4 separate regions of the Homo sapiens genome follow, and regions 2, 3 and 4 are each linked to region 1. Evidence: promoter capture Hi-C in 16 types of primary human blood cells and fetal thymus (Javierre and others, 2016). All regions are on one chromosome and are shown on one strand. Each heading gives the region's core, a stretch centred on a gene start or on the middle of the fragment in contact. The rest is flanking DNA. Distances are from core to core; before and after follow the strand shown.

What was found. Contacts are between HindIII fragments. The CHiCAGO score rates a contact against its expected background, and 5 or more counts as called.
Region 2: a contact is called between a fragment that was not itself captured here and the fragment with the promoter of SNAPIN in region 1, in 2 of 17 cell types (M1 macrophages and M0 macrophages). The highest score is 5.4, in M1 macrophages.
Region 3: a fragment that was not itself captured here is called in contact with the fragment with the promoter of SNAPIN in region 1 in 12 of 17 cell types (fetal thymus, M2 macrophages, neutrophils and 9 more); the score reaches 9.3 in fetal thymus.
Region 4: a contact is called between a fragment that was not itself captured here and the fragment with the promoter of SNAPIN in region 1, in 1 of 17 cell types (M0 macrophages). The highest score is 5.5, in M0 macrophages.

Annotation. Positions count from the first base shown.
Region 1 is chr1:153,657,299-153,659,998 of GRCh38, forward strand. It overlaps SNAPIN (SNAP associated protein), which reads left to right and starts at 1,405. Exons shown (of 4, transcript NM_012437.6): 1 at 1,405-1,588; 2 at 1,840-1,886; 3 at 2,150-2,268. The coding sequence starts at 1,446. RefSeq lists an enhancer at 1,171-1,250. The HindIII fragment of the contact is 14,460 bases long and covers 1-2,700 here.
Region 2 is chr1:153,384,880-153,387,579 of GRCh38, forward strand. No RefSeq gene overlaps it. Among named protein-coding and RNA genes, the nearest start is that of S100A8, 4.8 kb to the right of the region's middle. The HindIII fragment of the contact is 1,186 bases long and covers 700-1,885 here.
Region 3 is chr1:153,981,394-153,984,093 of GRCh38, forward strand. It overlaps RAB13 (RAB13, member RAS oncogene family), which reads right to left. Exons shown (of 8, transcript NM_002870.5): 3 at 2,128-2,188; 4 at 1,826-1,903; 5 at 1,326-1,415; 6 at 1,142-1,207; 7 at 998-1,051; 8 at 257-783. The coding sequence ends at 706. Among named protein-coding and RNA genes, the nearest start is that of RAB13, 3.6 kb to the right of the region's middle. The HindIII fragment of the contact is 3,017 bases long and covers 1-2,700 here.
Region 4 is chr1:153,353,097-153,355,796 of GRCh38, forward strand. No RefSeq gene overlaps it. Among named protein-coding and RNA genes, the nearest start is that of S100A9, 3.4 kb to the right of the region's middle. RefSeq lists a silencer at 655-704. The HindIII fragment of the contact is 1,897 bases long and covers 376-2,272 here.

The sequences.
Region 1 (2,700 bases), core at 155-2,654:
ACCATGCCTGGCTAATTTTTTTTTTTTTTTTTTTTTTTGAGATGGAGTCTCGCTCTGTCGCCCAGGCTGGAGTGCAGTGGCGCGATCAGGGCTCACTGCAAGCTCTGCCTCCCGGGTTCACGCCATTCTCCTGCCTCAGCCTCCCGAGTAGCTGGGACTACAGGAGTCCGCCACTGCGCCCGGCTAATTGTTTGTATTTTTAGTAGAGATGGGGTTTCACCGTGGTCTCGATGTCCTGACCTCGTGATCCACCCGCCTCGGCCTCCCAAAGTGCTGGGATTACAGGCGTGAGCCACTGCGCCTGGCCGCCTGGCTAATTTTTTATTTCCTGTAGAGACAGAGTCTCACTAGGTTTGTTGCCCAGACTGATCTCGAACTCCTGGGCTCAGGTGATCCTCCCGCCTCAGCCTCCCAAAGTGCTGGGATTACAGGAGTGAGCCACCATGCCCTGCCTGCATGTTTATATTATTCAGCCTTAAAAAGGAATGAAATTCGGATACATGCAGTTTTTTACATATTTAATGCCATTAAAAATATACTCTTTAGAAATAGACCAGGCGTGGTGGCTCACGTCTGTAATCCCAGCACTTTAGGAGGCTGAGTTGGGAGGATCACCTGAGCCCAGGAGTTCGAGACCAGTCTGGGCAACAAACATAGTGAGACCTCTTCTCTACAGAAAATGAAAAATTAGTCAGGCATGGTGGCTAACACCTGTGGTCCCTGCTACTTGGGAGACTGAAGCAGGAGGACCTCTTGACCCCAGGAGGTGAAGGCTACAGTGAGCCAAGACGGTGGCACTGCACTCCAGCCTAGGCGACAGAGAGAGACCTTGTCTTAAAAACAACCAACCACAATAAACTCTTTAGAAATAGAAAACGATACTATGAATATAATGTGGCTTTCTCATAAAGTGTTTTTGTTTTTGGTTTGTTTTTGTTTGGTTTGGGTTGCTTTTTTTTTTTTTTTTTTTTTTTTTGAGGCGGAGTCTCTCTGTTGCCCAGACTGGAGTGCAGTGGCGCGATCTCGGCTCACTGCAATCTCCGCCTCCCGGGTTCAAGCGGTTCTCCTGCCTCAGTCTCCCAAGTAGCTGGGTGCCCGCCACCATGCCCGGCTATCTCATAAAGTTAACATGGGAAGGCTATGGACAACTGCAGGTATTCGCGTTTATTTTCACCTTTAAAGAAAACGAAAAGTATCCACTCCAAAAACTGGTTCCTTTCTACAACCTGAACTTTGGAGATTTTCAAGACCAGCCACAAGGCCTCTACTCCTACGGCCTGGCCCTCCTCCCCGCCCGGTTCGCGCTAGACTCCATTTCCCAGAAACCCCGGTGTCTTGGTGGAGACAGCATTTCCCGGGCGCCCCCTCACGGGGCGGGGCAGTGCGGCGCGGCTCCGGTTCCCGGCGGCCCTCGCGGCAGGTTTCGGGCTTCAGGACAATTCGTGATGGCGGGGGCTGGTTCCGCCGCTGTATCGGGGGCAGGGACCCCGGTGGCGGGGCCCACAGGCCGCGACCTTTTCGCCGAAGGGCTGCTGGAGTTCCTGCGACCCGCTGTGCAGCAGCTCGACTCTCACGTACACGCCGTCAGGTGCCCGGGAGGGAAGTTGGGGGCGGGGCCTGTCTCTCTGGCTTTGTAGGGGCGGGGCCAAGAAAGTGTTCTGGCTGGGAGTGGGCATAAATTTAGGAAACTGATTCGAGGCGGGGAGGACAGGCGGGAAGGCCGCAGGTGGAGGGTTCAGCGGAGGCCGGCTTCTCTCAGTACTTGGTAAATACGTAGGGGAGTTCGTTTCCTGAGCTCCGGTAACTGCCTGACCTTGTAGGCCTTGTACCTCTTTGCAGAGAGAGCCAGGTAGAGCTCCGGGAACAAATTGACAACCTAGCCACAGGTGAGTGAGCATCCCTGTGTACCCGGAATTCTTCAGCCCACTTTCAGGACCTTAGGTTTTTGCCAACCCCTGGGCTGAGTTTCTGTCACTTGCTTCCAGGGCATCAGGGCTGCCAAAGGACTCCTCCTTTCAGGGATGTCTTAAATCTCTAATGGCTGTGGCCCGTTTGGGTGCAAGTGTTTTCCATCCCATTACCAGCCTGCTTTCCCTCAGAACAAGAGATAAGCCGTTAGATCTTAGCTGCACCTTACTTCCATCCCCAGAACTGTGCCGCATAAATGAGGATCAGAAGGTGGCCCTGGATCTTGACCCCTATGTTAAGAAGCTACTTAATGCCCGGCGACGCGTTGTCTTGGTTAACAACATTCTACAGAATGCTCAGGTAAAAGAATATCTTACCAACAGTGATTCTTTGCCCTTTTTTGTAAGTCCTCAACACAGTGAAAGCCACTGTAATTTTAAAATTCTTTGGGGAAAGGGAAATTCACTTCTCCCAGTACTTGAAAAATACCTAGGAAAATTCGTCTCATTCTCACTATTCAGTTGCTGCCATTTACATTCTTGTGTGTGTGTGTGTGACAGTCTCCCTCTGTCACCCAGGCTGGAGTGCGGTGGCTCAATCTCAGCTCGCTGCAACCTCCGCCCCCTGGGCTCAAGCAATTCTGCCTCCGCCTCCCGAGTAACTAGGACTACAAGCGTGCACAACGCCCAGCTAATTTTTGTATTTTTTTGTAGAAGTAGGGTTTCTCCATGTTGCCCAGGCTGGTCTGGAACTCCTGGGCTCAAGTGAGCTTCCCACCTTGGCCACCCGAAG
Region 2 (2,700 bases), core at 43-2,542, 270 kb before region 1:
ACATGGCAAGGTAAACTGCATGATGAGCCTGCTTTCCCATACCATTGACCATGTTTAAAATCTGTCTGATTTTATGTCTATGTTCTAGGTAACCTGCATTGAGGCCATCACTCTCCAATCAGAACCACCGATGGCTGTTGGGGCCCCATTCAAATTGGCAACAGGCCACAGATTGACTATTCCAGCATGGAGATGCCCTGAGTACATGGGTGGCTGATTCAGCAGTGTTTTAGATCACAGGGGAATTTCCAAATCTAAGACTGGAAGGAAAGCTCCTCCGCCCAGGGAAGAAGACAGAATTGTTACTGGGGCAACCCCTAAGAGTTTAGGGCAATCAAAATGCCCAATCCTCTTGCTCTATACATAGGGAGATTATCTTTGCCTAGAGGATTGCTCACACCAGGAAAAAACTACCAGTCCTTCAGGCCCTGAGGTGTGCCAGGTAAAGTCCTGGGCAAGGAAAAGTGGCCCAAGAAAGAAGCTCATCTGGTACCTCCTCTCCCTACTCCTCACTCTGGACAGCAGAGACCCTATAGGGGATGAGGAGAAAGAGGCCAGGCAGGCAGGCGAGGAATGGCTGTCCCATCCACACCCAGGGTGGAAAACGGCTACAAGAGAGCACCTTCATGTTTTAATTAGGGTCTCTTTCTTGGAGACAGTAGAGATCTGATTCTACCTCTGCCACTTGCCAGATTCATAAGCTTTGTCAAGTTTCTGAGTCTACTCATGTACAAAATGGAAATAGTAGTTACCTCTCTCATAGGGTTGTTATGAGAAATGAGATAAGTTACCACAATGTCTTGAGCTAAAAAGCGAAATCATTAACAAAATAATTGGCCTGTGTCAAAATTTTTGTTTCAATTCATTAATGAGAGAACCAGTGAGGAAGACTTTTTTGAACTGGTTTGAAAGATATTAAGAATATGAAAGACAGTTAGAAAGTAATGTCTAAGATTCTTAATTTAGACACAAGACTAGATACAAGTCTTTTGACTTTTCATAGGGTGACAAAAACAAACCATAACAGTTTTGGGTTTAATGTCTTGACCAGCCTATAAAGCCATATTGCCCTATCCATCAGAGGTAAACTGTCTACATCATCTGTTATGAATTGCTATCAAACATGCTTTGCCGATCACTTTTCTCAAAAGTGTCAGATGAGGTCTAGTAGCAAGGACCTTCTTTTTTTCAGACAGACTCTAGCATGAGATCAAAAATATAAGCAATCATCAGTTTGCCTTTTTCCAGGTTTGAGATGATTTTTTTTCTTTCACACTGACACATAGCTGGAGCCCAGTAAGTGTTGGTAGCTTTCCCTCCCCTCTTCAGCCCATTTCAATTTAGACTGAATTCCCCCAGGCAGGAGGGCAGAAAATGGGCTGGGTTCTGGACCCAATCAAAATTGTTCTGGTTCCCAAGTGGAGGGATAAACAGGAAAATCTTTTCCATTGGAATAAGGCCTTTTGCTCAGCCACTGTAGACCGACTGCCCAAGTCCAGATTCTCTCCATGCCCTTTAAGACTTTTGTCACAACCACCAGGAACACACCTGAAGTCAGGACACTTGGGCGAAGAACTTGGAAGGAAAAGCAAGACTTCAAACAGGTCATCCTTATAGGACCCAGAAATCATAGTTGCCAGATCTGCTTCAATTGGTGAGCCAAGCACTCCTTTGTGGGCTCAAATGTTGCATGCGATTTCCTGCTAAACTACTTATTTCTAAACTTCCCACTCCCTTGTTCTTCTTTTGCAGCTGGGGAAACAGGAAACAAAGTCATCTTGCTCTGGGCCACAAGTCCTGTCTGATTCTGCCCAGTCAGTGTGGTTTCGGTAATGGGCACGGTCTTGTTTGTAAATCATCATCTCCAAGCCTGCGTCCTCTGGGAAGCTTCCAAGGCCTGCCTCTCTCACTTCTCTTCTCCAGATGGCCAGTGACAGCTGGGCCACCTCCCCTGCCCAACTGTGCACTCAAGAATCAACTGTCGACCCAATTCTTCACAACCAGTACCCATCACTTATGGTGAAACTCCAAAGGGCACCGTGGGCCACCTTCCTCTTCTGGTAGGCTCAGAAAAAGAAGACTTATTGGACTTCCAAGTAATGGCAGACAACTGAGAATAGTAACTCTCCCCAAAAGAATCCATTGACAGCAAGTCCAATAGTGCACTTTCAAGGGGAATCAAAGGCGCTGGGATAGGTTGCCCCTCACCACCCTGACACACACACACACCCCACCACCACCACTGCCACCACCAATGTGGATAGCTGAAAGGCAGAATCAGGGTACTCGCTCCTTTTTTGTACTCCTGTTACTATCTTTTCTCTTGTGAGTTCCCCTAAATGTTGAGTTGACCTGAGATGTGGCTTGGTGAACCCTGGAACCTTTCCCACCTTTTTTAGCCTGGGCCACATTCAGGTCAGCTGCTCACCTTTGCACTATATATTGGAGAAAACTATAGCAAGATCACTGTGGTGTCTCTCAGAGCTCCATAATCTCCGTTTCTGCAATGCGGAGTGTATTCCACACTCCTGACTTAAGCAGAAGCACTGGCTTGGGAGGATGGATAGATATCCTTCAGCAAAACTGAGAAGAAAGTAATTTAATGCCTAGGCCTTCCTCCTTGCCCCAGCAGAAGCCCATCTCCACATTCTGATGACTAAATTTTCCCATCCCATCTTAGATGCCAATCTTAACTTTCAG
Region 3 (2,700 bases), core at 164-2,663, 320 kb after region 1:
GGACAAGGCTCTGCCCACAAGGGCATCCGGACCCCATGGCGGAAAGAGGATATCCAGACCTTCAGATCACTCTACCTCCTGCTCTTTGCTATTTTCCTTACCAACAGAACAGCTAGGGAAGAGACAGCAGTAGGATTAGTCCTGGTTCCACAGAAACCGAGCCTGATTTGGGTAAATCAATCACTTTGAAGACACAATAATTGGATTTGAGTGGAGAACAATTCTGACAATAATCCAAGTTACCCAAAACAGGAACATTTGTGCAAATGGTGGCCTTTAATACCAAGAAAGACCATGACAAGTGACAGAACAGGAGCAAATTCCCTAGTGTAGTGCCGAGCTAGCCTTTTGCAGGACCCTAAAACCTGATCTAGTAACAGAATAAATCAGTGTATTTACATTTATGTTTGCCCTGAAAACCCAGGTAAGGTCTGAAGCCTGAGGCATCTCTCCTTCCTTTCCTCCTCCCTCTCTTCCTACCTCCTTGCCTTCTTTCACTTCCTCAATTCATTCCTCTCCCTTCTCCCTTCCTCTCTCTTCCTTTTTTTCCTTTCTGCTTTTCCCTTTTCTCCTTTTTCTCCTCATTCTCTTTACCATCTACCTATGTGACCCTCCAAGCCCCTCTGCTATTTCTCCCCTGCTCACTCCCTCTGCCGTTGTCTCCCTCAGGTTCAGCTTCCGGGGTGGGGAGGCAAGAAAGGGTCCTCAGCCCAGGGAGCACTTGTTGGTGTTCTTCTTGTCACAAGTTTTCAGGTCAGTACTGGGAGGCTTGTTGCCGTTTCCCTAGAGGGAGAAGGGCACAGGTGTCATGGTGTGAATGGATGGTTAGGGTAGGAGGGTATAAACTGTTTAAAGTAAATCCACCCTCATGAGAAATCTTAGCATTGCTCCCCGTTTTTATCAACACCAACACACACACACACACACACACACACACACACATACATACACACACACACACCCCAGAGTTGTACCTAGTCCAGCAAAACCAACTTACTGATCTCCGGCCTCCTGACTTGAGCAAGATGTCCCGGGCCAGGGAACTAAAAGCCTAAAGTGGGGAACAGAGTCAGTTTGGAGGGAGGAGAATCTACCTTCTAATACTTCCTCTCTTGGTCGGGGATGGGGGTGTGGATCTCACCTCATCCACATTCATACTGGATTTAGCACTAGTTTCGAAAAATCGGATTCCATGCTCTCGAGCCAACTATAAGGGGTGAAGTGGGAAGAGAATTGAATTAAGGACAGCAGCCAAGTCCTCTGCAATGCAACCTATCTTGGCCCTCCCAGCCCAGTTCTAGAACATTGCTCAGCCTGGCCCTCACCTTATCGGCCTGCTCCTTCTGCACCTTCCTCTTGGCCTCCATGTCACATTTGTTCCCCAGCAAGAGGCGCTCCACCCCAGCCGAGGCATTCTGGGGGCAAAAGACAAGTAAAAGTTAGGTCCTGCCGGCTGGGAGCGGTGGCTCACGCCTGTAATCCCAGCACTTTGGGAGGCCAAGGCGGGTGGATCACCTGATGCAGGAGTTCAAGATCAGCCTGACCAACATGGAGAAAACCCGTCTCTACTAAAAATGCAAAATTAGCCGAGCATGGTGGTGCATGCCTGTAATCCCAGCTACTTGGGAGGCTGAGGCAGGAAAATCGTTTGAACCTGGGAGGCAGAGGTTGCAGTGAGCCGAGATCCTGCCATTGCACTCCAGCCCGGGCAACAAGAGCAAAACTTCATCTCAAAAAAAAAAAAGTTAGGTCTTGCCTATCCTGATGGACCCCTTCATTCTCCAGGTTCTAACCAGTTTCCCCATCTCTTTTGGAGGGTCCTCACCTCCTTGATGCTTTTCATCCAGTTCTGAATATTCTCGAAAGATTTCTCATCCGTGATGTCGTATACTAGGATAATGCCCTGGGAGATGACAAAATTCACCTTGGACCATGTTCCCATTGAGGCTTCCCACTGCCCTGTAAGTGACCCCGCATCCATGGGTCTAAACACTAGGCCATGTTGGGCCCTCTGCAACCCACACTGCACCCCTCCCATTTTTACCTGCCCCAACCCCTGACCCTTTGTATTCATAATATATTCTGTAGCCTCATCCTTCATCCTTTGTTCAGACCCACACTTCATACCATGGCTCCACGGTAGTAGGCAGTAGTTATTGTCTTGAACCGCTCTTGGCCAGCCGTGTCCCTAAAGAAGGAGAAGTTTTCATGGGATGGAATAGAGGGAAGAATTCTCCAACGGAATAATTCTTCCTCTCTCACAAGAATTTAGCTTTTGTAACATGGTGGGGCAACAGAATAAGGAAACAGTAAAGGGGAACGGGATTAAAGACAGTTGAGCTGATTTCCAGAGATGGTAGTGGCCCAAGAAACAAGATGTCTTTGCTTATTCATTGAATGTTTGCTATGTGTCAAGCACTGTGTATGTATCATTTTATCTAATCCTTACTCTTTCCTTGTAAGACATGTATTATTGTCTCTATTTTAAAAATGAGGAAACACGCCAGGTGCCGTGGCTTGCGTCTATAATCCCAACACTTTGGGAGGCTGAGGCGGGTGGATCACCTGAGGTCAGGAGTTCAAGACCAGCCTGGCCAACATGGTGAAACCTCGTCTCTACTAAAAATACAAAAATTAGCCCGGCCTAGTGGCGGGCGCCTGTAATCCCAGCTACTTGGGAGGCTGAGGTCGGAGAATCAC
Region 4 (2,700 bases), core at 74-2,573, 300 kb before region 1:
CTGCAGAGATCTGGAACCTAGGGACATAGTGAGCGCAAAAGCCAGGTTCCCAAGAGATCGGGGAGGAGAAAGGGTTGGAGCAACAGAAGCCAGGCAACAAAAGGGAATGCCAGCTTTCTCAATTTTGAAGGTGGCATGTCTGAGAAATTAGGAGGATGATGAGCAGAGGCAGCCAAGGTGGAGACAGGGGGAGAGGTCCAGACTTGGGGAAGCTTAGGTTGAATGTCTAAGAAGCCAGATCATTGGAGGGTCCTCACTGTGGATGCTGGAGCAGCCCAGCATGGGGGCAGGGAGTGCGGCTGCTCTCAGCAGAGGGCCTCAGAGACCTCAGGATGGCCAGTCAAGGGAGGCCACAAGGATGCCAGGGGTGGTCAAAGCTTGATGTGGACTGAGCCCAAACGTGGTAGAACAATGGTCTGAAGCTACCCGTGGATAGCTTCTGTAAGTCATCCTAATGCACTAGAGTCTAGAATGAGCACTGGGGAAATGGGGGATGTTAGGGCGCTTGTGGTTAGGAGACCCGTACCCAGAGATCTCCAAGGAAGAGCACTTGGGACTCCCAGCAAGGAGGAAGACAGGGAGTGGAGGAATAGGCAGCAGGCTGTGCGCAGCCTGAGTGGGGCTGGGCCTCAGGCATCAGAGTCCCTGTGAGGAGAGGGACCTGACTTCACCTGCAGGTGGAGCAAGTAAGCCAGGAGACAGTGTCCAGGGGCCATGAGGCTAGTAGTAGTCATGAAGCCCACCAAGAGTCCATCAAAACTTGGAATCTGTGCTAGAAATGACCTAAGGGTCAGCTGTCCCAATCTCCTCATGTAATGGATAAGAAAATGGAGGCCCGAACATGGAAATCACTTCTAAAGACCACCAGCAAGTCTGAGAAAGCTAAGGACTAAAACCAGCTCAGTCCCTCAGTCCGGGTCCCACTGTGTGCCTGCTGTAACACCCCCATTACAACACAGGAGGGGTAAAGCTCCCTGAAAGACCACAGTGGGAGCTGCAGAGAAGGGAAAGACAGACCCGCAGTGGGTCCCAGGCATCTGGGAAAGAGCACAGTGATTTGATGGTAGCTGCAGGAACCTCTGCCTGCTTGTTTGTTTACTTGCTTGGTTGTTTGTTTGTTTGAAATGGAGTCTCACCCTGCCACCCAGGCCAGAGTGCAATGGCGCGATCTTGGCTCACTGCAACCTCTGCCTCCCAGGTTCAAGCGGTTCTCCTACCTCAGCCTCCTGAGTAGCTGGGATTACAGGTGCGCACCACCACACCCGGCTAATTTTTTGTATCTTTAGTAAAGATGGAGGTTTCACCATGTTGGCCATGCTAGTCTCGAACTCCTGACCTTGTGATCCACCCGCCTCGTGCTCCCAAAGTGCTGGGATTACAGGCGTGAGCCACCGTGCCCGGCCACTTATTTGTTTTTTAACCCAAAAAGCCACACCCTTTTCTCCCAGTGAAAACCTCGAGTCATTGTACAGAGCCAGGAAAATTGGCCCACCCACTTCATGCCCTAGCAGAAGGCTCCGACTTTCCCTGGAAAATCAGTACCCAGAGGGGAAGACCCCCATCCCACCATCCCTCAGTCCAACCTCTGGCCTCGGCTGGCAGTGAGGAGGCAGGTGGGTGTCGGCCACCTACTGATCATGCCAGGAATTGTCTGCTCCGGTCAGAACCAGAATGGCTCAGCCCTGGCCTCACCTGCGCCTGGGCTAGCCTGGAACCTGGGGGCCTGCAGTGGCCTTCTAAGATGGGGGCCCACTGTCAGCATCAGATCCCCCAAGTGCAGATTCCCGTCTGTTTTGAAACCCTGACCAGCTGCTCATTCCCACCCACTGCTGAGCCTTCTCTCCCCCAACTCCCTATTTTACTTTCATTCTGAATCAGCACTAAATGACCACAGTCAGTGGCTCTGCAGAAAGTCACAGAACAGAGGGTGACAGGCCAGTGTTTATGTCACATTCACTCATTTCATCATTGATTCATGCACTCCTGAATTTATTCAATCAACAAGCGTTCATCCAGTGCCTCTGAGCCAGCCCTTGCCTGGTGCTAAGACTTTGGAGGGTAGCAGGCAGCATCCCTGCCTAGAGGAGCCACAGTGGTGTGGAGGAATCAGAAAGTCCACCTGAAAGTTGAGAGCTCCATGACAAAGCAGAGATGCCTGCCGCACACCATCACTCAGGGTTTGAGTCACACACACCCTGCTTCATTGTCATGCTTTTTTTGTTTTTATTTTAAATTAATGGACAAATTGTATTAAACAGGAATTTTCATATAAAGCTTCAGATGTCCTGGGCCCTCAGGAGGTCCAAGAACATCTGGTCTACTTTCCCACGTGGCAGCCCTGGCCTGACACTGGCTGTCCCTTCAAGGTAGGAACGTTCTCATTCCCCACAGTTGCCACCACTGTCCAGTGTCCCCAACCCTGAGGCCCCATATCAGTGGCCACAAGTTGCCCTACTGCTGCCGTTGATGTTCTCATGCCCCACCAGCTTCACCTTGGGTCTGGTTCCCGCAAGGGTGAGTTGGAGATCCTTGGTCCTGAGTGAGAAGTGCTTTGTCAGAGGCAGCAGAGGGCGCCATGGGAGCACACAGGAAGGGCGCCTGGGGCTGTGCAGGGACTGCAGAACAGGCTGCACTGGCACACAGGGTTGGCTGCTGGCTGCTGGCTGCTGGCTGCTGGCTGGGTTTCCTCTATTAGCTTAA